5 separate regions of the Homo sapiens genome follow, and all the other regions are linked to region 1. The links are contacts of gene promoters, found by promoter capture Hi-C in blood cells and fetal thymus (Javierre and others, 2016). All regions are on one chromosome and are shown on one strand. The core of a region is centred on a gene start or on the middle of the fragment in contact, and the rest is flanking DNA. Distances in the headings are between cores, read along the strand shown.

Region 1 (5,831 bases), core at 1,311-3,810:
AATTTCTGTAGGTAAAAGTATCTTCTTCTTTTCTGTTAGACTCAAAAACTTTTGGGACTAATTCCTTCTAAAAAATCATGCCCTGTATTCAGAAGAGAGGGACATAGGATTATTTCTGTTTTCTTGAAACCAAGTTTAGAATTTGAATTTTTCCAATCAGCCTAGTCTTACTTTGGAATCACAAGGCTGAAAAGGAGGATATTAACAGGCCATTTGATAAGTGATCTGATTAGTCGCCATCCTTGCTGGATAAGTTTATTGTGCTTTAAAGGCCAGAGGAAAAGGTGTTTCTCCAGTCTACCTAAGAGTTGATAATCTTAAAATCCAAGTTAATGTTATATTGCAGTTACTTTTTTGATCTTCTCACTCCTTCTAAGTTATATTGCAGTTAAATCTTGAGGGCTGGAGACTTCATCAAGGGCAAAAATCTTTTGAATAGGCTGATTTTCTACAGAACCAGTAGCATGGAAGCAAGAAAAGAACTACTTTCATCATAGATTCCTCAACTTGCTGAGCAGTGCCTCTTTCTGGATGAACAGGAACTTAGCAATTGATTTATTTAAAAAAGGAAAAACTGGTCAGATAATCCTCCCAACGCGTCTACAAAAGTGAAAAAGAGGGGCATCAGTTGCATGCTAATAATAAATATAATTATACCAACATCAAAGTGTAAGAGAGAATAGTGACTCATGAGCATGGCCTTCGGCATCATATAGGTTTAGGTTTTTGATCCCACTCCACTTGTTCTAGGGTGAAGCTGGGTAACTCAATCTCTCTAAGCCTCTCCTCTGGAATTATAATAATACCTAACTCAAGAGTATTGTCAGGATTAAGTGAGATGATCCATATAAAATACATACTTGCCCAGGTAACTGCTGAACAGACAATGCCATTAAAACCAGAGGCCCTCCCGTCCAGGAGGGAGGTGGGGGGGGGGTCAGCCCCCGCCCGGCCAGCCGCCCCATCCAGGAGGTGAGGGGCGCCTCTGCCCGGCCGCCCCTACTGGGAAGTGAGGAGCCCCTCTGCCCGGCCACCACCCCATCTGGGAGGTGTACCCAACAGCTCATTGAGAACGGGCCATGATGACAATGGCGGTTTTGTGGAATAGAAAAGGGGGAAAGGTGGGGAAAAGATTGAGAAATCGGATGGTTGCTGTGTCTGTGTACAAAGAAGTAGACATGGGAGACTTTTCATTTTGTTCTGTACTAAGAAAAATTCTTCTGCCTTGGGATCCTGTTGATCTATGACCTTACCCCCAACCCTGTGCTCTCTCCACTCAGGGTTAAATGGATAAAGGGCAGTGCAAGATGTGCTTTGTTAAACAGATGCTTGAAGGCAGCATGCTCATTAAGAGTCATCACCACTCCCTAATCTCAAGTACCCAGGGACACAAACACTGCGGAAGGCCACAGGGTCCTCTGCCTAGGAAAACCAGAGACCTTTGTTCACTTGTTTATCTGCTGACCTTCCCTCCACTATTGTCCTATGACCCTGCCAAATCCCCCTCTGCGAGAAACACCCAAGAATGATCAATAAAAAAATAAAAAATAAAAAACCAGAGGCCCTGCTAATGGTCTCTTAAAACCAGCTGGTGATCTAGGGCAAGCGAGCAATCCTTATGCTTCCTTGCCCTATAACCAAAAGCAAAAAATCCTTTTTAAAAAAATTAACCATTTGAGCCAAGCACAGTGATGATTTGGACCCCTGCTTTCTGACTGGACCTGCTCCTGGCTCCTGCTTGTCCAGAGTTTTCATAAACAGACTAGGTGACCCCTAATGCAGATTCCCTGACAATCTACAGGCCTAAACGTGAATTAGAAAAAAGTGAGTAGGGTGCCACTTTTTGGAGAAGGGCTGAAGAGAAACAATAATCACTCCAATCTCCGAGTTTTGCCCTTTAGCTTCTCCGCTTTGAGGGCAAAAGGCTGACGGTCTTAACCTAAACTCTGGAGGAGGATGTAGTCCCCAGATTTTTTCTTTCTTTACTTTTTTTTTTTTTTTTTTTGAGACGGAGTCTCGCTCTGTTGCCCAGGCTGGAGTGCAATGGCGCGATCTCGGCTCACTGCAACCTCTGCCTCCCGAGTGCAAGCGATTCTCCTGCCTTAGCCTCCCAAGTAGCTGGGATTACAGGCATGTGCCACTACACTCGACTAATTTTTGTATTTTTAGTAGAGACGGGGTTTCACCATGTTGGTCAGGCTGGTCTCAAACTCCCGACCTCAAGTGATCCGCCCGCCTCAGCCTCCGAAAGTGCTGGGATTACAGACGTGAGCCATCGCGCACGGCTTAGTCCCAAGATTTTAGAGCCAAGAAGCGTTTGCAGGAGGACGTAGGGAAAGACTGACTCCCCTCCCTACAAAGCCCCTTTTCCTTTGACACCTCCTGGCCAAGGAAAACCCTAACCACTGGAGACTTCCAGAGACGGCCAACTCGCACAAACGCTGAAAAAAAAAAAATCCCAAAAGCTCCTCTGTCCCCACTAGAAGCACCGCCCCCCGTACGGGCGTGCGTGAGCGTGCGTACGCACAGGCTGCTGGGATGCCGCTTTTCCCTTCTCGGTCTTCCAGTTTCCCGGCGTGCTTAGGGCGCGCCAAATGGGAGGGGGAGACGCAAGATGGCGGCAGCCGCGAACTCCGGCTCTAGCCTCCCGCTGTTCGACTGCCCAACCTGGTGAGTGGCGGGGCGGCCAGGGCTAGAGTGGCCCGGCCGGAGCTAGCCTGGGCTGGAAGGGCGGCTCTTTTTTTACTTTTCTGCTGCGAGCCGAACGGCTCAGAAACCCCGGAATGGTTGAGGAAAAACTGTTTGCTGCACCGGGCCGGGCGACGTGTTGAAGAACCGAGAGCCTGGAGCCCAGGCCCAGGAACTGAAGAAACCCGGGGTTGGGGGCTCAAAGGCGCTCACTTAGGCAGCCCCTTTGAGCGATTAGCCAGTCGCCGGAGCGCTTCGAGGCCTTGGCCCGAACTTACGCCCAACTCTTGACTGAGTGCCTGGTGCTCTCGTGGAGCATCGCATCTGGCCCCTTCCTGTACGTCCCGAGCGCGCTCGAGCCAGCCCCGGCCCCAACCCTACCTCCAAGCCCCGCATCCCTCTGTGGTTGCTGCATCCCTCGTGCGGCACTTGTCTGTCTGCCACAGAGAATACGAGGGTAGGTTAGCGCCATCCCTGCCCTCAGGGAGCTCCCAGTCTGTGGCACTAGTAGGCATTAGTAATGGTTGGCATGAACCCTTTTTATCCCTTCGAAAGTTCTTGGGAATAATGAAATAATTTAATTTGGTCTTTGAGTAGGGTACAAGTTGAATAAATATGAATTACCTTACAAGGAAACGCTTCTGAATTAAGAGTTTTTTTCTGCTGTAGCTCATCGCAGTGTATTGTTTGTTGCTTGTCTCTGTCTCCCGTTGTATTGCCATCCTCAAGGGCAAAGACTGCATCTTTGTATTCCCAGCTCCTAGGCCTGAGTCAGGCACATAGTAGGAATTCAGAAAGTATGTTTTGGATGTAACATTCCTCCTTTTTCCTGGACAAAATGGCCTTTTGTCCGGTGCATTGTCCTTTCCATAGAGGAGGGGTTGGGGCAGGATTGTGAGATGACTGTGTTGAATCTTCAGTTAGCTAGACAAGGATACGTTTTTTCATGTGCAAATCTAAAGGTTCTAGTGAGGTGGTTCTTTTTTCTAACTTCAAATTAGCAAACCCAAAAAGCAAGCAAATGTGTGGCTATTTTCTGGATCGCTTTGCACTTTTGTAGTAGTTGCTTCAGTCTACAAATTCTGTATCCATTTTGATCCCTCGCTGTATTGATTTCAAATTTGGGCCGAGATAGCAAACATAGTTAGAAAGCACTGTTTTTGAGATCACCTACCCTTTCCTTAGGATCTGGTAGGTACCAGGCACCGTTAGGTGCTTTGACATATGAGTCTCCCTTGAATGGTATGGCTGTAGGATATAGAGGAAACGTCCCCTAATCATGCTGTTGTAGAAAGACCTGTTTCAAGGGTAACATATTCATTTGGTACCTGGTTTCATGGGGCATGATTTTGAATTGCCCTAGTTCCCTAATTATGCACCTCTGATTTGGTTTCAGAGCTCAGGACAGTACTCTTTGCTTACTCTGTGATGAGACTAATCTTGATGAGCCCCAAACAGCAACTAATTTATTCGGTCTTTATATGATATTGGAGTAGGGGTGGATTTCAGATTCAAACTCCAGGTGACTAGACCACCCCAGCTATCGTACTTGCACTCTCTATGCAGTTCTTTCTCTGAGGTGAAGATCCAGTGTTAAAATATAGGTTTCTTGGTGCTGCTCTAAATACAGATCTACTAAAATCTGTTGCAGAGCAATTGAATCACTAGGGAAGTAAGTGTCAAACGTAGAATGGAGCTGTAATAACAGTGAAGTGGATGACATTTCTGCTTGAACATGAACTAATTATAGGCTGGTAGGAGAGCTGCAATGTTGAATGGGACAATGGTTGTAAATAGCATTTATAAACCCATCCTGAAAATGCTTTTTTCTATTTTTATTTTTCAGGGCAGGTAAGCCCCCTCCCGGTTTACATCTGGATGTAGTCAAAGGAGACAAACTAATTGAGGTATGGAAATACATGTCTTACTTTTTTGGCTGCCACACTAAAGATTTTTGCCAGTGACTCACTTTTCCACCCCCTCTCCTGTGCTTTGTTTTCCAGCAATGCTACTTTCTTTCATCCTGATTTTTTTTTTCTGTTAAAAGCACATGGTGACATCACACATTTAAAGCTTATGTCTACCACAGACACTCAATTTTTTGTGACTTCTCTCAAATGAAGGGTTTTAATAGGTCATGGGTCCTGTGGGCCCCAGTCAAACTGGAAGCCCTGTTAGCTTGGTTAATTCCCTCTCCCTGAGTACATGGAGTTGTGTAAACCGTGCAAGGTATGCAGTAACTGAAGAAAGTGAATGATATATATTGAGTTTAACTTCTAAGTTAATTTTAAGACATTCAGGCCCAACTCCTTATAAGAAGTATGGTAAACTAAGACATTTACTCAAAAAGATAATGGAATTGTGGTGAAATTCATTAATTGATTCTTTCAAAACATGTATTGAGTGTTTACTATGTGCCAGTTACTGTGCTTGGCATACAGATTGCAGCAGTAAGCAAAACCAACATAATTTCTGTCCTCAAGTCATCCAGTGGGAGAGACAGAATCACACCAAAAAATTACATAATTATATTTGAATTAAGTACTATAAAAGTTTAGCAGAATTCCAGCTTTTATACAAGCCTCTAGAGAGAACACCACATAGGAGTTCAAGAGAACATGAGTTTTTATTAGCTATTAGTTTGCGTAAATTTTTTATAATCCTTACGGTATTATTTATTTACCAAGAGATGGATATTAAGCCCACTATGACCATGTAGCTGTGAGTCTCCCATATTAGACCAATTTTATATTTGCTTGCTCAGCTAGAATTTAGGTTCAAGGCCCCATTATTGAATGCAGTTTTTTCATTGTGGTTTTTTGGTATTTAATAAAAATGTTGCAGTTCCACGGTTGCTAGATTGAAAAGCTATCTGAGATCTTTTGAAGGTTACTCTGTAAATATATTGTTGTCACTTTTGAGATGTTGTAGAGATAACCAGGTATTTTGCAAAGTATTAAGGCATGCACGAGTTTTAATGATTTCTCCTGTTATGAATACATCATGGACTCAGCCAGTCACAGAGAGCCCCTTTGTCATGGGTTCTTCTCTCTTAAAGATTTAAAACCTCAAGATTATTCAAAGAAATAATTTAGCTAAAATATCTGTAAAACCTTTTTTGCTATAGATTGTTCCACAGTTAC
Region 2 (5,746 bases), core at 887-3,386, 240 kb after region 1:
ACTAAGACGCAGGTGGTATTATCATCCTCATGCTACAAACAAGGAAACTGGGATTCAGAGATTTAAACAATTTGTCCAAGAGTAACAGCAATAATGTTGCAGGTTGAAGTGAAAATACCTTAAATAAAGAGACTAGATAATAGTGATGATGACTGCAGATCATTGTAAATGTACTTAATTCCACTGAATTGTATACAGTAGTCTCCCCTTCCAAGGGGGGGATACACTGCAAGACCCCCAGTTGACCCCTGAACCCACAGATGGTACCCATATAGACTGTCTTTTTTCCTATACATATATACCTATGATAAATTTTAACTCAGCAGTTTTCACACACTGTGTGGCCAAAACCTGGAGTTTGAGGTGTGACAGAAAAACTAGCATGAATTTCTTTTCCTTCTTCAAAAGTTCATGGACAGAAGATTAGTTCTTACCATAGATTTTTTTTCTTTCTTTTTGAGATGGAGTCTCTCCCTGTCACCAGGCTGGAGTGCAGTGGTGAGATCTCAGCTCACTGCAACCTCCGCCTCCTGGGTTCAAGCGATTCCCCTGCCTCAGCCTCCTGAGTAGCTGGGACTACAGATGCGTGCCACCACGCCCAGCTAATTTTTGTATTTTTAGTAGAGACGGGGTTTCAGCATGTTGACCAGGATAGTCTGGATCATGATCCGCCCGCCTCGGCCTCCCAAAGTGCTGGGATTACAGGTGTGAGCCACAACACCCAGCCCTACCGTAGATCTTAACAATCTCAGCATATGATTTTTTTTCTTTCCTTATTTAGTGGAGAACTTTTACCTTTTCACTTAATGCACTTCTCTTTGGTGTATCTGTATTGCCAGCAACACTACTCTTGCTCTTCAGGGCCATTAAGTAAAATAAGAGTTACTCAGGCTGGGTGCAGTGGCTCATGCCTGTAATCCCAGCACTCTGGGAGGCCGAGGCGGGCGGATCATGAGGTCAGGAGTTCAAGGCCAGCCTGGCGAACATGGTGAAACCCCATCTCTACTAAAAATACAAAAATTAGCTGGGCATGGTGGCGCATGCCTGTAATCCCAGATACTCAAGAGGCTGAGGCAGGAGAACTGCTTGAACCAGGACCCGGGAGGCGGAGGTTGCAGTGAGCTGAGATCACGCCATTGCACTCCAGCCTGGGCAAGAGTGAAACTCTGTCTCAAAAAAAAAAAACAAAAAAGAGTTACTCGAACACACAAGTACTGCAGATACCTCAACAAATGATCTGATAACCAAGACGGCTCCTAAGTGAGTAACAGGCGGGAAGTGTCTACAACATGAATATGTTGGATAAAGGGATGATTCATGACCCAGGCAGGAAAGAGCAAAATGGAGAGAGACTTCATCACACTACTCAGATCAGTGCACAATTTTAAACTGATGAATTATTTGCCTGTGAAATTTTCCATTTAATATTTTCAGACCAAGGTTGATAGAAGGTAACTAAAACCGCCAAAAGCAAAACTACAGATGGTGGGGGTACTACCTTACTTAAAAATGGTTAAAACAGTTAATTTTATCTTACGTATATTTTACAATAAAAAATACAAAAAAAACCCTAAGAGATTAGAAATGCCAAAAAAAGATCAAATCTATAAAGTATTTAAAATATGAAATAAATGGAGAAAAAATCAGTATTTAGAAAACATTGTCAGAAAAACTGAATACCAACATGCAAAAAATATCCACATCAACATATGCTGTAAGTAATTATAAATATATTAAAAAACTAAACATTCAAAAAACTTTGGAGAAAACAGAACAGTAAGCTTATCTCACTATGGAAAAGAGATGAATTTATGGTCAATTCAAAGAAAGCATAAACAAGAATTTGACAAATCCAATTATGTAAAATAAACTTTCATGCAATGAAAAAAACAAATCTAAGATTAAAATATTATAAATTCAGGCAATATCTGCAAGAATTATGATAAATAAAACAATGTTTATAATATAAACCAAACCAATTCAACATTTCCCGATCATCTATTATTAGGGAGCAAACAATGACTAACTCATAAACCTGTCAAAGGATAAAAACAGGCAGTTTAAACCACAGAGATTCAATCGGCACTTGAGAAAAAAGACTGTCTCACTACTAATTGGAGAAATATAAATTGCAATATTCTTAAGATACGACTTCATACATATTAAGCTACCAAAAAAAATCTAAACAATAAAACCAAGTGTTATCTGGGTTATGAGAAGATAAAGACATATTCAGTCAGGCACAGCTGTAAAATCATATGTGTCTTCAGACTGTTCCTGGATAAAGTATAAAAGAGGTCATAAGATTGGCCACAGCCTAATCTGAATAATTTTTCTTAGGTGCTCACCCAAGAATTACATACAGGGGGGAAAGAAGCAAACTCTACTTTTAAAAATAGTATAAGTTTGTTGTCTACAGAAACGAAAAATGAGAAACAAACAACATGTGAACAATAAGTTTAACTACACTGTAACTGTAAACTATTTCAATACAAGCTTATTTAAAAGGTGAATACATGTTTTTATGTTAGTTTAATAATAGCTTACATATAATTTGATAAGAATCAAAAGCAGATACAAAGCTTACATTTAAAAGTATAGTAAAATGTTTAAATACATATTTTTAAATGCTTATATAAAAAATGTTCAAGACATTAAGCTAAAATTAGACACAAATTCTTCATTCTTGCCCCCAACTTTTTCCATTAGAAAAAAAATTTCAGTTTTGAGGGAAAAGCATTTCAAATCACAGTGATCTTGCCTTACCTAAAAAATCTTACCCTGTTTGTGACAACAGTATAGGCAGAAAGATTCATTTGATTTTCTGGCTGTGTCATCTCTTTCCTAAGAAGTTATTTAGACACTGTACACAAACTCAGGGTTGGTTCATTTTACAGCTCTAAGCAAAAGCAACGAACTTCCAATAGTTAAAGAATTTGCTATTGGAAGAGACTTCACATTTGGTTTCACTCTATTGGACAGACACGATTCTCTCTTGGAAATGCAAGAAAATATATAACAAAAGATGCTACAAAGGATAGAGTATCACAGATCATTAAATGTAATCCTTATTTTAAAGTTGAGGAAATTAAACAAAAGAGAAGGCACTGCCTCATGAACCTGTAAGCAGCAGAAACAGTGGTGGAATCCAAAACTCTGAACTCCCTTGTCTGAAGTTTTTTGTCCTCTTTATGTGGAATTGAGCATAAAACCCTCCCTTTTAAAATTACATTCCTTTATGCCTGTAATCCCAGCACTTTGGGAGGCTGAGGCAGGTGGATCACCTGAGGTCAGGAGTTCGAGACCAGCCTGGCCTACATGGTGAAACTCCGTCTCTACTAAAAATAAAAAAAATTAGCGTGGTGGTAGGCACCTGTAATCCCAGCTACTTGGGAGGCTGAGGCAGGAGAATCGCTTGAACCCGGGAGGTGGAGATTGCAGTGAGCCAAGATCGCACCACCGCACTCCAGCCTGGGCAACAAGAGTTAAGACTCCCATCTCAAAAAAAAAAAAAAAATTACATTCCTAATATTATTACCTTAGGCTACTTATTCCTTTTCTTTCATTACATCTCTATCCTATGTTACATTACTTTGATCTTATGATATAACATCATGTTCTTAACGTTTTTAAATATTTTAAATTTAAACTCAAAATTTCTTTTTCAATGTATGGATTGGCACTTTAAGGACCTCCTAAAAATCCAAAAATAACATTCCTTTTTTTTTTTTCTTTAGAGGAATAAAGAGCTTAGTTGAACAAAGAGCTACTTCTGAATCTGGCAGCCCTCAGAATCAGAAAAGATTCAGACTCAGAGAGCTCCCTGACATTCTTTTTATGCTACGTATTAACTCCCTGTACAGGCTAGCAAAAAAACCCACAAAAACAAATTGATTTCTCTTTATAACCGTAAGTCCTTAATTTAAAATGTACAGACTTTGATTTACTGGGTTTTTTTGTTTGTTTGTTTTTTGATTTTTTGAGACAGGGTGGAGTACAGTGTCACAATCTCACCTAGCCTGGAGTACAGTGGCACAATCCTGGGTCACTGCAACCTCCGCCTCCTGGGTTCAAGCGATTCTCATGCCTCAGCCTCTGAAGTAGCTGGGACTACAGGTGTCCACCACCATGCCTGGCTAATTTTTGTATTTTTAGTAGAAACAGGGTTTCACCATGTTGGCCAGGCTGGTCTCGAACTCCTGGTCTCAAGTGATCCGCCCGCCTTGGCCTCCCAAAGTGGGATTACAGGCTTAAGCCACAGTGCCCAGCCTGACTTACTGTTAATTAAACAGGTAATTTTATTTATTTATTTATTTATTTTTGAAACAGAGCAGTGACACAATCTCAGCTCACTGCAACCTCCACCTCCTGGGTTCAAGCAATTCTCCTGCCTCAGCCTCCCAAGTAGCTGGGACTACAGGCACATGCCACCACACTCGGCTAATTTTTCGTATTTTAGTAGAGACAGTCTCACCATGTTGCCCAGGCTGGCCTCAAACTCCTGAGCTCAAGTGATCTACCCACCTCGGCCTCCCAAACTGCTGGGATTACAGTCATGAGCCACCATGGCCGGCCAAAACAAGTAATTTTAACTGGGGCTGGGGTCAAAGTGGGAAGGGGCGGCTGAGGTAGGAGGATCCCTTGAGCCCAGGAGTAATCTGGTAATCTGGTATGTTGACCAGCCTGGACAACACAGCAAGAGACCCAATCTATTTAAAAAAAAAAAAAAAAGAGAGAGAAGAAGAAGAAAAAAAAAGAGGGTGGGAGGGAAAGGAGAAAGGGAGGGAAGAGGAGAAGGAAGGAAGGGAAAGAGGGGGTAGAAGAGGAAGAGAGGAGGGGGGAAATCCCCTTTCCCAAACACATATACACACAGTTATCATGAAATAGATTTCTAGCCAAAGATGGGTCCATAGCCTAATACCCAGATCCTGTGAATGTTCACTTATTTGGAAAAACAGTCTTTGCATATGTTATTAAGGATTTTGAGATGAGATTATACATAGGCCCTAAACGCCATCACAAATATCCTTATAAGAGAAAAGCAGACATTTAACACACATACAGAGAAGACGGCAATGTGAAAATGGAAGAAGAGACTGGAGGGTTACGGTCAAGGAATGTCAGCAGCCACCAGAAGCTGGGAGAGGCAAGGGATGATTGCCCCTAAAGCCTCTGGAGCAAGTTCAGTCCTGCCAACACCCTGATTTCAGACTTCTGGCCTCCAGAAGTGAAAGAATAAATTTCTGTTGTTTTAAGCCTCAAAGTCTGTTTGGGGTAATTTGTTATGGCAGCCACAAGAAACTAATACAAATAGCAAAGTTTATGTTTTTTGTTTGCTTGGTTTTGCTATTACCTCTCTGTTTGGGCTTGTTGACCATCTCCTGACCACTGAATGAAACAGACAAACTGAAAACGAAAGTGGGAAATGAAGAAATCTAAGTAAGGGGCCGGGTGCGGTGGCTCACACCTGTAATCCCAGCACTTCGGGAGGCCAAAGCAGGTGATCACCTGAGGTCAGGAAATCGAGACCAGCCTGGCCAACATGGTGAAACCCCCCGTCTCTACTAAAAATACAAAAATTAGCCAGGCGTGGTGGTGGGCACCTGTAATTCCAGCTACTCCGGAGGCTGAGGCAGAAGAATCACTTGAACCCAGGAGGCAGAGGTTGCAGCAAGCCGAGATCATGCCACTGCACTCTAGCCTGGGCTACAGAGTGAGACTCCGTCTCAAAAAAAAGAGAAAGAAA
Region 3 (6,070 bases), core at 3,338-5,837, 210 kb after region 1:
ATGAGCGAGGGATGTAATCGGTGCATGTCATAACTGAAAGAAAGATAATATCACCAGGTTAAAAAGTTAGAACATTTCGAAAATGGAATGGGAAAACTGCACATCTCACTGTATAGTCTTTCAAACTAATTAACAGAATACAGCTTGGACACCAGATAGAAAGACTATGTGGTAGAAAATATCTCACTTTTTTGTTTATACATGTGTTTATAGACTTCCAGAGGCAGTTAAAAAAAGAAGGGTGGGGTATGGAAAAGAGCTGAAGGTTGGTAAGGATCTCTACCTTTACCCATTACTGATCTAAAATAATAGATGAAGCAACCTTCTAAGCTTTCGGCTATGCTGATAGGCAAACTTAAAAAGCAAGCTTTATGTCTGGAAAACCACATTATTCTACTTCAGCTTATTTGTTCTTTGAGTGCTTACTATATTGAGTAAAAGCCTTAAGAATGACTTGCAGGAAAACAGATTTGGGGGAGGCACCCAATCTTATTTTAAAACCACTGCTACTGCTATGCATAATCAACAGCAGAATAGATGCAAGTATGCTTCTATACTATTATTTTTTCTGTTTTGTAGTGAAGGCTTTAAGTTTGGCAAATCACAGACAGACGTGAGGAACTGATGTGATACTCTGATGAACTCTCAAAGACTTTTCCAGCTATTGTCCTCTTGACCCCCATGACTTCATCTGGAATAGCTGCTATGAAGGCTTGACTCTCATGATTACTACTTCTGGTATGAACGCTGTAAATATCTGATTAAAAGTGAACCAATTAACTTTATGTCTAATTAGGTTCCCTGGAAGAGTACCTGACCCAAAAAGAGAACCTTGATCAAAAGTAGATGAGGGGCCAACTCAAATGCTCAAGAGTAAGACAAATCAACACCTGTGAGTTTATTACAGAAGAGCTTGTCCAATGCTATTGTTTGAGGTATTTAAAAATAATTATTGGAGATCACATTCACCTCTAATCATTTTGACAAAAATGAAGATGTCAATTAGATCTAAAGTTTTGACAATCCATTGCAAAGAATGTAAGGTAAGTTTATTTGAATTCTACATAATGGTTCTCAGTTGACACATATATTAAAAAACCCAAACCCTTATCTTCCTCCAATTTAATTTAATTCTGGAAGGAATCAACAACATCCTAGGAGACTGAGGCCAATTTTCACTTCTCTAGAGAATGAATGAGACTTGATCTTCACAGTACTTGGGAACCACAAAATGATTATAAAGAGTCAAGATATAATATCCATTATACTATAGAAGAATCAAGTAAGTAATATGCTGGCTTGGACTAGAATAGCAACAGTGGGGATGAGGCAAAGACTTTGAAATATATTCTGAAGGTAAAACTAACAGGACATTCTGATGGATTTGATGTAGAGAATGAGGAAAACAACTAGACGGAGAGTGATACCACTTCCTAAGATGGGCAAGTTTGGGAGAAGAGTGTATGTCACGGGGGCTAAAGGAATCGAAAGTTCTTTTTTGAAGATCTTAGGTATGATTTTCCTTCCAGTAAAGATGTCAAACAGGCAGTCTGATACACAAATGAAATCAGGGGAGAAGTCAGACTGGAAATATCAATATGGAATTCATTAACCATGTACAAGATATTTAAAGTAATGTAATGGATCGGAGAATCCCAAAAGAGGAAACATGGTAGCCTAGAATTAAGCCCTGAGGCCCACCAAAGAAGGGCCATCAAAGGAGAAAGGTGGGAGGAAAAGTACTGAGAGGGAGAATGTGAGGAGAAACGTATTCTAGAATTTGCAACATGAAAATAACTAATGGCCTTGACGACAGCAGTTTCACTGGAAGAGTGAGGATAGAAGCTAAATTTGAGAGGCTGGAAAAGTGAATGGGAGGTGAAAAAGCAAGTGAGGGCAACTCTTGCAGAAGTTCTGATATGTCACAGAACAAAGAGAAGGTCCATAACTAGTAAGAGATGTGGAGCCAAGGGCGGAGGGGCAGGGGGGGGTCGGGGGAGCAGTGTTTATGTTTTAAAATGGTAAGATGTTTCTTTACTGACAGGAAGGATAAAAAGGGAAGACCGTGATGACACACAAGTGGTGGCAAGAAAACTATAGTACCAAAGTCCTTGGGGAAGGTAAAAACAGATAGCATATGAAACACAAATAATAGCCTCTATATCTGACAAGAGCAAGTATGCTGCTTACATCCTGACAAGAAGGAAATGGCTGGGTGTGGTGGCTCATGCCTGTAATCCCAGCACTTTGGGAGGCTGAGGCCGGCAGATCACTTGAGGTCAAGAGTTCGAGACCAGCCTGGCCAACATGGTGAAACCCCATCTCTACTAAAAATACAAAAATTAGCCAGGCGTGATGGTGCGTGCCTGTAATTCCAGCTATTCGGAAGGCTGAGTCAGGAAAATGGCTTGAACCTGGGAGGCAGAGGTTGCAGTGAGCGGAGATCTTGCCATTGCATTCCAGCCTGGGTGACAAGAGCGAAACTCCACCTCTAAAAAATACAAACAAACAACAACAAAAAAATACAAAAAATAGCTGGGCATGGTGGCATGCGCCTGTAATCCCAGCTACTCGGGAGGCTGAGGCAGGAGAATCACTTGAACCCGGGAGGCGGAGGTTGTAGTGAGTCGAGATTGTGCCACTGCACTCCAACCTGGGCAACAAAGCAAGACTCCATCTCAAAAAACATAAAAAAAAAAATAAAGAACAGAATGAATAGGATGACAGTCTAAAGTAAAAATAGAAAGGTAGGGGAAGGTATAGATGTAGACTTCAAATGAACCAAAGTTTTTATTTATTTTATTTTATTTTATTTTTTGTAGCGAGGAGGTCTCACTTTGTTGCCCAGGCTGATCTCAAACTCCTGGCCTCAGGTGATCCTCCTGCCTCAGACTCCCAAAGTGTTGGGATTACAGACAAGATCCACCATGCCCAGTTGAACCAAAGTATTTGAAGGAAAAAAGGAAATTATTTGGAAGGAGCAAGAATACTCAACTTACTTCCTGACCCTGAAGTATGTAAAGTATAAGATTTTAGGGAACAGGTCTTTTTCTTGGGGATGAGTGGGAAATTCAAGAAATTAGAGGAGACACTTTACAAATTAGAGTGGTTTTCCACAAAATGGACAGTTTCCCAATGGACCAGAATCACCTGGCTAACTTGTCAAAAATGCAGATTCCCTATCCACATCAGATCTACTGAATGATAATCTTTGGAGGTGAAACTAGAATTCTACATTACAAACAAGTATTCTAGATGATTCTTATGTAGGCTAAAGGTCTGAGAACCACCAGAATAGAATCACCTTTGAGGAAACACTATATAGAACTCAAGACACACCTTTTAAAAAAAAGTTACACCTTTTTAAAAAATATACATGGGAAGTATATATGGTTAAGTATAGTTGTCTCTGATTTTCTGTAAGACACTATTACCTTTAAAACATCCAATCTCAAAACAAAAATAAAATCACGGCGTGTGACTCCTTGGGTGAGTGGACTCCATGTGATCTTTTCTCAGCTGGTCTGTCAATAAAGCTTACAGGAGGGCTCAAGGATAAACACACACAAAAACAAGGATGGGAGAGCCTTCAGGATATTTTGGGACAAACAAGGCAATTACGAAAAACCAACTCTATAAGAAAAGCATTACTAGTTATAGGAATATCTGTTCAATCATGCACAGAATATGGTACTTACTTTCCTCTGACATGGGAAGGTTTGAAGCAAGGCTTGATGTTTCAGGCTTCTGATCACTGACATCTGGATTGCTTACTTGACTGGGAGAACCAAAATGAATACATTAGCCCCTGATTGATTTGCTGCATTGCTAAAAAGTGATGAGTTCAAACCCATTTCCTCCTAGGCTATATAAGTAAGAGGCAAAGTAAATCTTCGTGATATCCTTATTGTTGATTTTTAACAACTACTTGAAGAGAGCTCGGGCCAGGGCTAGTACCCTCAGCATTCTACCGCTCTTTCTTTTTTTTTTGAGATGGAGTCTCACTCTGTCACCCAGGCTCGAGTGCAGTGGCACGATCTCGGCTCACTGCAACCTCCGCCTCCTGGGTTCAAGCAATTCTCCTGCCTCAGCCTCCTGAGTAGCTGGGATTACAGGTGCATGCCACCATGCCCAGCTAATTTTTGTATTTTTAGTAGAGACGGGGTTTCACCATGTTGGTCAGGCTGGTCTTGAACTCCTGACCTTGTGATCCACCCACCTCAGCCTCCCAAAGTGCTGGGATTACAGGTGTGAGCCACCACGCCCAGTCTACTGTTCTTTCTTATATCTCTAGATCCCTTTAGTTTTTATATAATTCAGAAATTCCAGCTAAGTCACTGGCAAGTCAGATTTTTCTTTAACACCATATGGTAAAACATTGCTCTGCCACTTTTTATTATATGTTTATGGGGTACAATGTGATGTTTTGATATATAAAACACCTTTTGCTTTTTTGTGAAAAAAAAAAAAAAAACGTGAAAACACTTAAGTTCTATGCTTTTAGCAATTCTGAAATATACAATGCTATATTATTTATTACAGTCACCATTCTGTGCAACAGTGCTCTGTTACCTTGCTCCCAAAGTACCACAGGAAGGTAGGGAGACGTTTGATTTCAGACAGTGGTTCTTGATCAGCTACAAACCATAATCATATGAGAAGTGTTTTCAAATTACACGTTTGGGCCAGGTGCGGTGGCTTACACCTGTAATCCCAGCACTTTGGGAAGCTGAGGCGGGCGGATCACTTGAGATCAGGAGTTTGAGACCAGCCTGACCAACATGGTAAAACCCCGTCTCTACTAAAAATACAAAAATTAGCCAGGCGTTGTGGTGCACGCCTGTAGTCCCAGCTACTCAGGAGGCTGAGGCCTGAGAATTACCTGAACTCAGGAGGCAGAAGTTGCAGTGATTGGAGATGGCACTACTGCACTCCTGCCTAGGCGACACAGTGAGACTCTGTCTCAAAAACAAAACAAACAAACAAACAAACAAACAAAAATTATACGTTTGTTTCCAAGCGGGGGTTCTAAACCCTTAAGATTCATTCTACTATATTTCTCTTATCTCCCAGTTAAATAAAACACAAACACCTCATTTTCTATTTGTTATATAGCCAGGACTAAGCAACATCATTTTTTTTAACTTATAAGGAAAATTAAGAGAAATTGAGAATGATAAGTCACATAAACTGGGAGGACAAGTCATTATGTTAGATAGTTTAATGCTGGGGAGATTCCACAGAAATTCTGGAATGAAGATTGTTCTAACTTTCATTCTTCAAAATGTTCTCTCTTTTCCATCTCCTCTACTTTTCATTCTTCAGTTATTATGTCCCATTATAGCACAGTGGTTAGGAGTGTTGATTCTAGAGTCAGAGGCTGCTCAAGTTCATATTCTATTCTGCCAATAACTAGCCCTATGACCTTGGACAAGTCACTGAACTTATCTGTTCCCCGCTTTCTACATCCGTCAACGAGAATAAAAATGAAACCTACCTCATAGGGCTGTCAGGAGGACTAATAAGTTTACATTTAGAGCAAAGCTAGAACACAGTAAGCACACTTTAACTGTAACTGTTATTATATTACAACTTCTTCAAAGCCCAGGCATCATTCCTACATTCATGCACCCTAGAAAGAAGCTTGCTTTGTTCTTCTACTCTCTAGGGAGAGGTGGAAGACACTGTACCAGAGGTTCTATATATCTGGAAAGATAATGCTGACTAATCAAAGGTAAGAGTAGTTTCTACACAGCAAAATTGTAAAAAGAAATGTTGCTTATATAAAAAATATATAGCACAAAATTTATAAAGTTCTCGTATCATTTCTGAAACTGACTTCTAATATTCAAGTATAATAAGGGTTTTTTTTAAATGGTATATATTTTTTGTTTGGTTGGTTTTTGTTTTGTTTTTTTGAGTCAGGGTCTCACTCGGTCACCCAGGCTGGAGTGCAGTGGCTCGATCATGGCTCCTGCAGCTTTGACCTCCCGGGCTCAAGTGATCTTCCTACCTCATCCTCCGAAGTAGCTGGGACTACAGGCATGTGCCACAACACCCAGCTAATTTT
Region 4 (5,915 bases), core at 3,099-5,598, 150 kb after region 1:
CCAGAAAACTGTGTGCTGTTCTGGAGGCCATATTTTACTTTTTATTTTATTTTGAGACAGGCTCTCATTCTGTCACCCAGGCTGGAGTGTAGTGGTATGAACATGGCTCACTGCAGCCTTGACCTCCTGAGCTCAAGTGATCCTCCCACCTCAGCCTCCCAAGTAGCTGGGACTAAAGGCATGTGACACTATGCCTGGCTAATTCTTTATTTTTTGTAGAGATGAAGCCTCACTATATTGTCCAGGTTGGTCTTGAACTCCTGGGCTCAAGCAATCCTCCCACCTTGGCCTCCCAAAGTGCTAGGGATTACAGGCATGAGCCACTGTGCCTGGAGGCCATATTTTTTTTTTTTTTTTGAGACAGAGTCTCACTCTGTCGCCCAGGCTGGAGTGCAGTGGCACGATCTCAGCTCACTGCAAGCTCCGCCTCCCGGGTTCACGCCATTCTCCTGCCTCAGCCTCCCGAGTAGCTGGGACTACAGGTGCCTGCCATCACACCCGGCTAATTTTTTACATTTTTAGTAGAGATGGGGTTTCACCGTGTTAGCCAGGATGGTCTTGATCTCCTGACCTCATGATCGCCCGTCTTGGCCTCCCAAAGTGTTGGGATTACAGGCGTGAGCCACCGTGCCCGGCCGATATTTTTAAATTAAATTAAATTAATTTTTTATATTTTTTGAGACAGAGTCTCACTCTTTTGCCCAGGCTGGGGTGCAGTGGTGCTATCTCAGCTCACTGCAACCTCCACTCCCAGGTTTAGGTGATTCTCATGTGGAGGCCATATTTTAAAGGAGGGCTTTGATAAATCCAAGTATTGGAAACCATGTTCTATGAAGCTGAGGAGATTAACTTTCCTATCATCTAGTTGAAACTGGTTCCAAGTTACTCAGAATATTGAGGTCCTAGAACACAGTTATTTTGGCATATACCCTAGTTGTTTTTCAAGACAGCTGCTCACACATAATATTTAAAAGGCTATTAACATACAGAAGAGGAAACCGACTTGTTATGTTCAAGAATGCCAGACTAGAGGCCAGGTGCAGTGGCTCATGCCTGCAATCCCAGCACTTTGGGAGTCTGAGGTGGGTGGATCACCTGAAGTCAGGAGTTTGAGACCAGCCTGGCCAAAATGGCAAAACCCTGTCTCTACTAAAAGTACAAAAATTAGCTGGGAGTGGTGGTGTGCACCTGTAGTCCCAGCTACTTGGGAGGCTGAGGTACGAGAATCGCTTGAACCCAGGAGGCGGAGGCTGCAGTGAGCCAAGATCATGCCACTGCACTCCAGCCTGGGCGATGGAGTGAGACTCCATCTCAAAAACAAAACAAAACAAAAAAAAGAATGCCAGACTAGTATGTGAAGGTAGAGAAATTTTTGCTCAGTGGAAGGGGGAACACCCTAACAGCTTGGTTGATCCCACGGTGGAATAGGCTACTGGGAACCAGTGTCCTCATCCTTGGGCATATTCAAGCAAGGACTAGAGAGACTTCTGTCAGAAAGGCTGCAGAAAATATCCTTCACAGAGTATAGGTTGAACTGGATAAAGTGCTAAGGCATTTTCCAATTGGTATATACTTTGTTTGTTTTTTTTGAGACAGGGTCTTGTTCTGTTGCCCAGGCTGGAGTGCAGTGGCACGATCTCGGCTCACTGCAACCTCCGCCTTCAGGGTTCAAGCAATTCTTGTGCCTCAGCCTCCCGAGTAGCTGGGATTACAGGAGTGCACCACCATGCCCGGCTAATTTTTATATTTTTAGTAGAGACGGGATTTCACCATGTTGGCCAGGCTAGTCTCGAACTCCTGACCTCAGGTGATTTGCCTGCCTCAGCCTCCCCAAGTGCTAGGATTATAGGCATGAGCCACCGTGCCCAGCCTCAATGGATGTATTCTGTTGTAGATGATTAAAGACATTAGCTCAGAGTTACCAACTCTGCTGATGAGTTGTTCTCTCCCCCATACCCTTCTTCAGACCAGGAAACATTGATGCCTACACCCACTAGTGTCTTTCCCAAAGAGGGCAACAAGAAGCACTTTAGAATCAAAGCTTCATAACATATGTGAAAAAATAAGGATCCCTGAATTGCTACATAAAGTGACAAATGAAAACATGAGATAATAATGCCAACTGATTACCAATCTCATAGTTTATTATAGTTGCTAAGGTTTCCACTTAACTGGATGAAGAGTATCAGGGCAGTTGGTTCTAGCTGGCAACCCAATGCCTCCATGTCTAAGAAATAGAGTTGCTGGAAGAAAATAAATTGGGATAGGGAGGGAAAGAACTTCTACAGATCCATTTAGCAGATGAGGATACTCAAAGAGGATAATTGTTCAAATTCACATAGCTGAGACACAGATGGGATTTTAAGTTCTATAGCCAAGACTCTTTCATCTATTGTTTCCTATATTAAGAAGGGGTGACCTGGGCCAGGCGTGGTGGCTCAAACCTGTAATCCCAGCACTTTGGGAGGCCGAGGCAGGCGGATCACAAGGTCAGGAGTTCGAGACCAGCCTGGCCAATACGGGAAACCCCGTCTCTACTAAAAATACAAAAATTAGTTGGGCATGGTGGCGGGTGCCTGTAGTCCCAGCCACTTGGGAGGCTGAGGAAGGAAAATTGCTTGAACCCAGGAGGCGGAGGTTGCAGTGAGCCAAGACTGTGCCACTGCATTCCAGCCTGGGAGATAGAGTGAGACTCTATCTCAAAAACAGAAAAAAAAAGAAAAAAGAAAAAAAGAAGGGGTGACCTGAAGTTGGGACCTGTATAGTGGTGGGGTTAACATCAGAACAATCTTTCCAGGGCTCAAAGGCAGGAAAGACTTTCTCTACAGAAACAGCTATTGGTTGTACTGTCTGAGAACTTGAAGCATGGAAAAGAAAGAATGATTAGCCTTTTTGCAGTCAAGTCTGATGCTTGAGAAGGCACTGTCTTTGAAGATGGAAGATGGGGCACATCTCAGGTTTAATGATGGGATCCCTGTAGAAGGGCTTAAAGATTTTAAGATTCTTGAGTGACAGGGAGGAAGAGGAAGGGATGGATCTAAAAACTTAAGAGGAAAAACTCCATCTGGAGAAAAAAAAGACCCTCTTTTTCTTTAAAGAAAAATGGGAGAGGAAGAAAGAGAAAATATTATAAATGCATAATAGATTGCTAAGATTTTGTAGTTTTTCCCATTTTTCTCATTACTCGATGTACAACCACATAGACTATTTTTCTTTACCATGGTTACCTGTTTGGCTGCAATTTCTTCATCTCGTCCATCTCCAATCACTACATATGTGACTTTCTTTCCAAACCTTGACACAATTCTCTCAAAGCAGCTCTCCTTACCTGATGAGAAAAAGAAATTTCCTGTTAGAATACTCTTCTCTTCTTTTCAAAACCAAAGAAGAGGGCTGCTGCTAGGTTCACCTGCCTGTGCTTAGGTGGACTAAGTGACAGCCCATGTAGTTTGCTTGCTGGGGAGTAGGGATGGGAGCTAGAGATCCAGTAGACCCTCTGCCCAAAGAATGTGAAGTTGTGCCATTAAAATAACTTGGCCGGGCATGGTGGCTCAAGCCTGTAATCCCAGCACTTTGGGAGACCGAGGCGGGCGAATCACCTGAGGTCGGGAATTTGAGACCAGCCTGACCAACATGGAGAAACCCCGTCTCTACTAAAAAACAAAATTAGCTGGGCATGGCGGCGCGTGCCTGTAATCCCAGCTACTGGGGAGGCTGAGGCAGGAGAATCGCTTGAACCCGGGAGGCGGAGGTTGCAGTGAGCCGAGATCATGCCATCGCACTCCAGCCTGGGCAACAAGAGCGAACTCTGTCTCAAAACAAACAAACAAACAACCCAAAAACTTATTTTAACCTTCACGTTGAGGGTGAAGTCCCTAAGATCTTAGTGTGAGGGAATTTCTATAAATGGGAAAGATTAATAGGTTTAGTGACTTGCCCCTAGATCACAAACAAGCAAGTAGCTAGAACTTGGGGCCCCTGACTCCAAATCTAGGCTCTGGTCATTGTGTCATAATGAATGAATGATTTTTGGGGTGAAATGTTTTAGGGTAGAAAAGAGAAGTGAAAACACAAGGCCCTGATTTCTTGTTAGAAACAATAACAAACAAAAAGCCATTTCCCTCCAATTCTTCATTTCCCAGAAACAGTCCTGGGTATAGGCCTTACGTCTTTCAGTGAGAGAACAGCCCCAGAATAGAACTGAGAACAGTGACCAATAAATATGGCATCAACATTTGTCATATCTGGAACCTCCTTACTTACTATACCTTGTAGTTGTAACCAAGATACTGCATCACTGAAATTGACCTTGGGAAATGGGTGATTTAAATCCATTTCTCAGAACTGCAGACAGTTTTGAGAAACATGGCAGTGTATCAAAACTCAAATCCCATCTGCAACCAACACCTAAAACATACACAGATCATACTGCTGTGGGAAAGATACTTTATTTGTATAAATAAAAAGAAGTTATATCCCTTGCTCTTTTTATCTCCCTGCTTCTGCCACCTTCTTCAGTTAAACAAGGTCCTAACTTTGGCTTTCTTCTTCATCCTGCTCTATTAACCTTCTTGTTCTTTCCCCTTGCCCAACAGAGTGACTTAGCACCAGGGTTCCTGTGTAAATAAGATAAAGCTGCCTCTTCCTCAAGACATTTGACTGCCATCTGCTGGAAAATCACTGTAATATATAAATATACAAATCTAAGATAACTGTAACATAATTGGCCAGAACTTATACTTCCATACGCAGAAGTCCTACTTGGCACAGAAGTTGTGCAGATATGTAACTGCAAATCTTTGACATCCTTAACCCAGTGGCACTTCAAAACAGACGGACTAGTCAACTGGACCAGACACTAGATCACTCTGGGCTCAGCTGGCCACTTACAATACAAGGCTTGGCTTAGGTGCACTTGGGTCTCTTTTAGTGCTAATATTTTACAATAGAATTGTCATGCCTTACATTCATATGAGGGATTCAATCAATGTTTGCTGAGTAAATTCATATTAATCTCACAAATGATTCAGTGGAGGACTGTAGTCCAGGTCTTATGCCTCAATTCAGTTCAAACATTAAACCATTCAACTAATAATAAATTCTTATTATGTTCATGGTGTTGAAGAGTTCTTTAATTCCATTTCACCCATTACAGCTTTACAAACTAAGCCAACCTCCACCAGATGCACAGTCTACTATGATCTGTCTGTAGCAAAAAACTTTTTTAAGTGAGTCAGTTTGACTTTCTTGTAAGACTCAACAAAGGCAGTAACTCATATTTTGAGGATAAGAACACAGACATTTTCACTGTCCTGGCATGCAATGATCAAGGATGAAATATACTCTGTAATGTCTCCTTTAAAAGGATTAAGAGGCCAAGAGAGTTATTAACAGCTCAAAGTAAAGAAGCAGCTCCATGAAAACAGGACTCACTCCAATACAGTTGGTAAAATACTTCCATTTCTGGATATGAGCTTTCCTGTTCAGGAGGATGAGGCCAATGATTAATCAGTTTACCATATGTCAAGCAATTGAAGCTGGTGAACTGTAAGATCAGCCAAATCTTTGGAGAATATTAGTCCCTGGGTTTTCTCTATTAAAATATTTCTAGCCAGGAGCGGTGGCTCAAGTCTGCAATCCCAGCACTTTGGGAGGCCTAAGGCAGGAGGATTACTTGAGCACAAGAGTTTGAGATTAGCTTGGGCAACACAGTGGGACCTTTTCCCTACAAAAAATTAAAAAATTAGCTGGGTATGGTGGTGGAACACGCCTGAAGTCCTGGCTACTCAGGAGGCTGATGTGGGTGGATCGCTTGAGCGTGGGAAGGTTAAGGTTGCAATGGGCTATAATCGTGCCACTGCACTCCAGCCTAGGTACCAGAGTGAGACCCTGTCTCAAGAAAACCCCCCAAAACA
Region 5 (5,721 bases), core at 1,309-3,808, 190 kb after region 1:
ACTAAGTGTGAAGGGCAAAATCATTCTTCTTTTTTTTTTTTTAGATGCACTCTCACTCTGTCACCCCGGCTGGAGTGCAGTGGTATGATCTTGGCTCACTGCAACCTCTGCCTCCCTGGTTCAGGCGATTCTCGTGCCTCAGCCTCCCCGAGTAGCTGGGATTACAGGTGCCTGACACTACTCCCAACTAATTTTTGTATTTTTAGTAGAAACGGGGTTTCACCATGTTGGTCAGGCTGGTCTCAAACTCCTGACCTCAAGTGATCTGCCCACCTCAGCCTCTCAAAGTGCTGGGATTACAGGCATGAGCCACCGCGCCCAGCCTAAAATCATTATTTTCTGCTAAAGGCTGACAGGTGGGTTCCTAAAACTTACTCTCATTATGTGACTAATATAACTGACAATTCCTGATCCAGTAGAAGCTGTACATATTTTGGTTAAAACTGATTGCCTAAGTGGGTCATTCGTTCACTTAATCCTTTATCAAATATTTATTGAGTGCCTACTATGTGCAAGCACTGCTCCACACAAGGAGCTTAGTAAATCAAAATAATAAAAATCTCCTAATAAAAGATTATTATTTTTTGAGACAGAGTCTCGCTCTGTCGCCCAGGCTGGAGTGCAGTGGCGCGATCTCGACTCACTGCAAGCTCCGCCTCCTGGGTTCACACCATTCTCCTGCCTCAGCCTCCCAAGTAGCTGGGACTACAAGCACCCACCACCACACCCAGATAATTTTTTGTATTTTTAGTAGAGACAGGATTTCACCATGTTAGCCAGGATGGTCTCGATCTCCTGACCTCGTGATCTGCCTGCATCCACCTCCCAAAGTGCTGGGATTACAGGTATGAGCCACCGCGCCCGGCCTAAAAGATTCTCATTGCTGGAGTGGAGATTTTCAGATCAATAAGGGACAGGGTTTAGAATGATCTATGTAATAATGGATCAGAGCTCAAGAAATCAGTAAGAATTCATGTTTAACTCAACACAGATACAGATTACGACATACAGAAATATTTATAGATATGTGTATTTACATAGGTTAGTATACCTACATATATTTGTTTGCTCTGTCAGCTGAGAAAGCCTAAAATAAATGTCACCTGACACCTCAGTAGCAATTAGCACCCCTCAAGCTCAGATCTTTTTTTTGAGACAGGGTCTCACTCTGTTACCCAGGCTGGAGTTCAGTGGTGCGATCACAGCTCACTGAGGCCTCGACCTCCTAAGGCTCAGGCGATCCTCCCACCTCAGCCTCCCCAAGTAGCTGGGACTACAGGCACGCACCACTGCACTTGGCTAATTTTTATATTTTTTGTAGAGATGGGGTTTTGCCTTGTTGCCCAGGCTGGAAGCCCAAATCTTGGTTTTGAATACCATTTTTTCCAATAAAAGGAACCAGGATTCCTTAAAAAAAATGGTTGATAATAGGACTTGAATAAGTAATATACAAGATGAGCCTGGAGCATCTTGTAGTGCCAGGAAGTAAGAAAGTGCTGGGTGGGGGGGGGGGGGAAAACCAAAAACTAAAAAAATGGGAGTATGTCAAAAGGCATAGGAGCCAACTGAAAGAGCTCCCAGTGGCCAAACTGGAACAAAATAAATAAAGTAGTATTGGATTATAACCCAAAGTATAAATTAAATATCTAGGAGTCCACAAAAAAATGACTGAATAAATCAACAAACTGGGGAGAAGAGACAAATCTGGGCAGAAGAATTCCAAATACATTATGTAGATATTCTACCCTAAAGAAGGGGCAGCATGATTCCTTAACTGTGGGCTGTACATAGTGAATTCTATCTAAAGAATACAGTACAGAAAGGGAGGAAAGAGTAACTTTATGGAGAAAACTGACAAACACTACTTCAATTAGGTAATCAAGGTCAACATCAACAGTCATAAATAATGATGATAGTATGGCACCTTGCCTTTGTGACCTTCCTCCTTAAAATCCATAACCCCAGCGTAATAATGAGAAAAACATCAGATAAATTCTCTAAGAGTGGGGCATCTTAAAATATACCTGGACCAGTACTCCTCAAAACTGTCAAGGTCATTAAAAGCAAGGAAAAGCCTGAGAAACTACAAAGTCTAGAAGAGCCTAAGGAGACATAACTAAATGTAATTTGGTATCCTGGATGGAATCCCGGAACAGAACAAGGACATCATATAAAAACACAGGAAATCTGAATAAACAACGGACTTAGTTAATAATAACATACTAATACTGGTTCACTAATTGTAACAAGTGTAATATACTAACGTAAGATGTTAATAATGGGAAACTGTGCAGGAGGAGGGATATATGGGAACTCTCTGTACTGTCTGCTCAACTTTTCTGTAAATCTAAAATTATTAATAAAAAATAAAGTCTAGGCCAGGCGCGGTGGCTCACACCTGTCATCTCAACAGTTTGGGAAGCCGAGGCAGGCGGATCACTTGAGGTGAGGAGTTTGAGACCAGCCTGGCCAACATGGTGAAACCCCATCTCTACTAAACATACAAAAATTAGTCAGGCATGGTGGCATGTGCCTGTAATCCCAGCTACTCAGGAGGCTGAGGCAGAAGATGCGCTTAAACTCGGGAGGTGGAGGTTGTATTAAGCTGAGATCACGCCACTGCACTCCAGCCTGGGTGACAGAGCAAGACTCCGTCTCAAAAAACAACAAACAAGCAAACAAACAAAAACATCTATTAATAAAAATTTTTTTAAAAATCTCCTGGTCAGAGATAGATTATTGTGTGTTACCAATGATACTAGAGTACAAAGACACTCATTAAAAGATTGAATTAGGCTGGGCGCAGTGGCTCATGCCTGTAATCCCAGCACTTTGGGAGGCCGAAGCAGGTGGATCACTTGAGGTCAGGAATTCGAGACCAGACTGGCCAACATGATGAAACCCTGTCTCTACTAAAAATACAAAAATTAGCTGGGCGTGGTGGTGGGTGCCTCTAATCCCAGCTACACGGGAGGCTGAGGCACAAGAATCCCTTGAACCCAGGAGGCAAAGGTTGTAGTGAGCCGAGAGCATGCCACTGCACTCCAGCCTGGGCGACAGAGCAAGACTCAGTCTCAAAATATATATATAATTAAAATTAATTTTGAAATTTCTGAAATTAATTTTGCCACTTGAATATTATTTAACCAATTAAAACATCTCAGCTGAAGAAAATGACCAAAGATAGGGCCACATAGTCACAAGATACTCTAGGAAAAGGATGATACTACAGAAGTCAGATCTACTCATTCAAAACATTTTTATGAGCAAACAAAGGCAGTCTCTTCTCATTATGGTACCACTGAAGTACAAACTAAAGAAAAGGTTCTGCTTAGAGTTAATCAAGCCAGAAGCAGATTAGGTTTTTGAGATAATTTCCCTAACTCCCCCAGGGAGGATGGGCTGCTGTCAACTGCAGAATGCTTGGGGTGTTTTGAACACTTAAAAAAATTGGGTAGTTATGCAGGGGGAAAGAAACAGCCCTGGATAGCTAACATTCACTATCCATGCTAAAAGGAAAGGGAAAAGTAGGAGCGAGGAGAGTAATATTGATAGTGGTGAACTTAAGTAATTTAATACCAATAATACCCACGTTTCATTTTAGCCCATTGTTTTCCTAACAATTTTTTCATCAGAATAAATGGCAAAAATTGATAACTTAATGGTTAACTTCTGCCTTAATTTCTACCCTGTGCTAATGAACAATAAAATGGGCCAATAGATTAACCACAAAAAGGGAGGAGAAGTGAATTTAGATATTTGTTAGCAAAGGTTCTCAATTATGGGAGAGTTGATATTGATACTATGACCTCAATACTGAAAAGCATAAATATTGTACTCATGCTCTGGAGTCAGAATGCCCAGCTAATGTCCTGCCTTAATTATTTGCTAATACTGTGACTATGGATAAGCTACTTAGCTTTTCTGTGCCTCAGGCTCTCCCTCTCTAAAATGAGGTTTGGGTTGTTGTGAGGATTACGTGTGCAACATCTATCCACTGCTTAGAAAAATGTCAAGAGCACAGTAAGCACTTCATAAATACCTGCAATTGTCATTAATAGCAAAATGAAGGAAACCGGGTTAGCCAATCCAAAGGAAAAAATGTTCTAACAGATAACAAATAAGAATGGTGGTTAGTGAAGTTTAAGGGATATTTTCATGACTCTTCCATTTTTTTAAATTTCTATTTATTTTTTTGAGACAGAGTCTCACTCTTGTTGCTCAGGCTGGAGTACAATGGCACAGTCTCGGCTCACTGCAACCTCCGCCTCACAGGTTCAAGCGATTCTCATACCTCGGCCTCCCGAGTAGCTGGGATACAGGCATGCGCCACCACACCCGGCTACTTTTGTATTTTTAGTAGAGACGGGGTTTCTCCATGTTGGTCAGGCTGGTCTCCAACTCCCAACCTCAGGTGATCCGCCTGCCTCGGCCTCCCAAAGTGCTAGGATTACAGGCGTGAGCCACCACGCCCAGCCTCATGACTCTTAAAGCAATGGGTCCTAACAGACCCCAAAGAGGTGATTCCTCTTGTTTTACAAGGGAGAAATAAGCACAGCTATCACATTCCTCAAATTCTAGACATAACTACAGAGGAATGGTGGTTTTACATTTTGGTAGAGCATTAAGAGAACCCTTGGTCTTCTTTCACAACCTAGGTGTAAGTTATCAGATATACCTGTTTAGAAGAGACTTGGCAACTAGACTTACCTGTGGTTGAACCCAAAAGGCCTATCAACATAGAGAAATACTAGGCCAGGTGTGGTGGCTCACATCTATAATTTCAACACTTTGGGAAGCTGGGGTGGGAGGATTGCTGGAGCCCAGGAGTTCAAGACCAGCCTGGGCAATATAGTGAGATCCCACCTCTAAAAAAATATAGAATACATTAGCTGGGTGTGGTGGTGTGCACCTGCAGTCCCAGCTACTGGAGAGGCTGAGGTGAGAGGATCACTTTAGCCCGGAAGGTGAAGGCTGCAGTGAGCCATGATCGCGCCACTGCATTCCAGCTGGGCAACAGAGTGAGACTCTGTCACAAAACAAAACAAAAAACCATAGAGAAATACTCTATAAAAATGAAAGGGAGTGGTGGAGAAGACAGGCAAAGCCATTCTTTCAAGTTTCTCCCTCCTGGTTTGTTCCCATCTTAGAAAGAAAGAAGGGGGAGAGGACAAGGGGAGAAAAAAAAAAAAGAAGAGGAAACAAGTGAAGAAAAGAGGAGACTTGGTAAACAACAGGAGGTAAAGGTAGCTCAGAGTAAGGTCTCAGAACATAGAGACCAGTTCTGTTTCCACTAGACCAAGGAGAAGTAGTTTTCAAACATTTCTGAAAACAGTTAAAACTGAAAATCAAAATCTAATTAACCTATATTAAAACTTTTTTTCATCACCAAAGTTTATACATTAAGAGTACTTCAGATAGGTTTTTGAGGTCCCATACTAATCCCTCTACTATCTATTTTATAAGAAATAAAATTTAAAAGCTGGGAAATATCAGGAGAAAAGAGGCAGATGAGAAGCCAGGTACAAGGATACTAGTCCCAGTCTGAAGCAATGACAAATTGCCTGCCCTGGATTTGGAAGAATAGGCAATTAACTCCATAGTGCCTTTTGAGTTTTTTGTTTTCTTTCCTAATAGTCCTGTCATAATTCTAACTCTGTTAGAGGAAGAACTTGGAAGGTAAAGATGTTTAGAGCTTAAGCTTTAATACTATGCTTTTTA

The links. The method cuts DNA at HindIII sites, captures the fragments that hold promoters and counts their contacts. A CHiCAGO score of 5 or more calls a contact.
Region 2: a contact is called between a fragment that was not itself captured here and the fragment with the promoter of PPP1R8 in region 1, in 2 of 17 cell types (M1 macrophages and M2 macrophages). The highest score is 6.3, in M1 macrophages.
Region 3: a fragment that was not itself captured here is called in contact with the fragment with the promoter of PPP1R8 in region 1 in 3 of 17 cell types (M1 macrophages, M2 macrophages and M0 macrophages); the score reaches 9.3 in M1 macrophages.
Region 4: a contact is called between a fragment that was not itself captured here and the fragment with the promoter of PPP1R8 in region 1, in 4 of 17 cell types (M2 macrophages, M1 macrophages, M0 macrophages and 1 more). The highest score is 10.3, in M2 macrophages.
Region 5: a fragment that was not itself captured here is called in contact with the fragment with the promoter of PPP1R8 in region 1 in 2 of 17 cell types (M2 macrophages and M1 macrophages); the score reaches 7.5 in M2 macrophages.

What each region holds. Positions count from the first base shown.
Region 1 is chr1:27,828,222-27,834,052 of GRCh38, forward strand. It overlaps PPP1R8 (protein phosphatase 1 regulatory subunit 8), which reads left to right and starts at 2,561. Exons shown (of 7, transcript NM_014110.5): 1 at 2,561-2,670; 2 at 4,535-4,595. The coding sequence starts at 2,615. It overlaps LOC124903885 (a long non-coding RNA gene), which reads right to left and starts at 3,562. Exons shown (of 2, transcript XR_007065562.1): 1 at 2,528-3,562; 2 at 1-600. RefSeq lists enhancers at 2,040-2,825, 2,699-2,868, 2,826-3,610 and a silencer at 2,489-2,568. The HindIII fragment of the contact is 9,216 bases long and covers 1-4,759 here.
Region 2 is chr1:28,064,834-28,070,579 of GRCh38, forward strand. All of the region lies in intron 1 of EYA3 (EYA transcriptional coactivator and phosphatase 3), which reads right to left. Among named protein-coding and RNA genes, the nearest start is that of EYA3, 21 kb to the right of the region's middle. The HindIII fragment of the contact is 715 bases long and covers 1,780-2,494 here.
Region 3 is chr1:28,038,873-28,044,942 of GRCh38, forward strand. It overlaps EYA3 (EYA transcriptional coactivator and phosphatase 3), which reads right to left. Exons shown (of 18, transcript NM_001990.4): 4 at 3,699-3,778; 5 at 1-33. Among named protein-coding and RNA genes, the nearest start is that of EYA3, 47 kb to the right of the region's middle. The HindIII fragment of the contact is 2,107 bases long and covers 3,535-5,641 here.
Region 4 is chr1:27,975,147-27,981,061 of GRCh38, forward strand. EYA3 (EYA transcriptional coactivator and phosphatase 3) reads right to left here. Exons shown (of 18, transcript NM_001990.4): 17 at 3,228-3,328. Among named protein-coding and RNA genes, the nearest start is that of XKR8, 18 kb to the left of the region's middle. The HindIII fragment of the contact is 4,618 bases long and covers 2,040-5,915 here.
Region 5 is chr1:28,021,581-28,027,301 of GRCh38, forward strand. The region is part of intron 7 of EYA3 (EYA transcriptional coactivator and phosphatase 3); the gene reads right to left. Among named protein-coding and RNA genes, the nearest start is that of EYA3, 64 kb to the right of the region's middle. The HindIII fragment of the contact is 6,282 bases long and covers 1-5,699 here.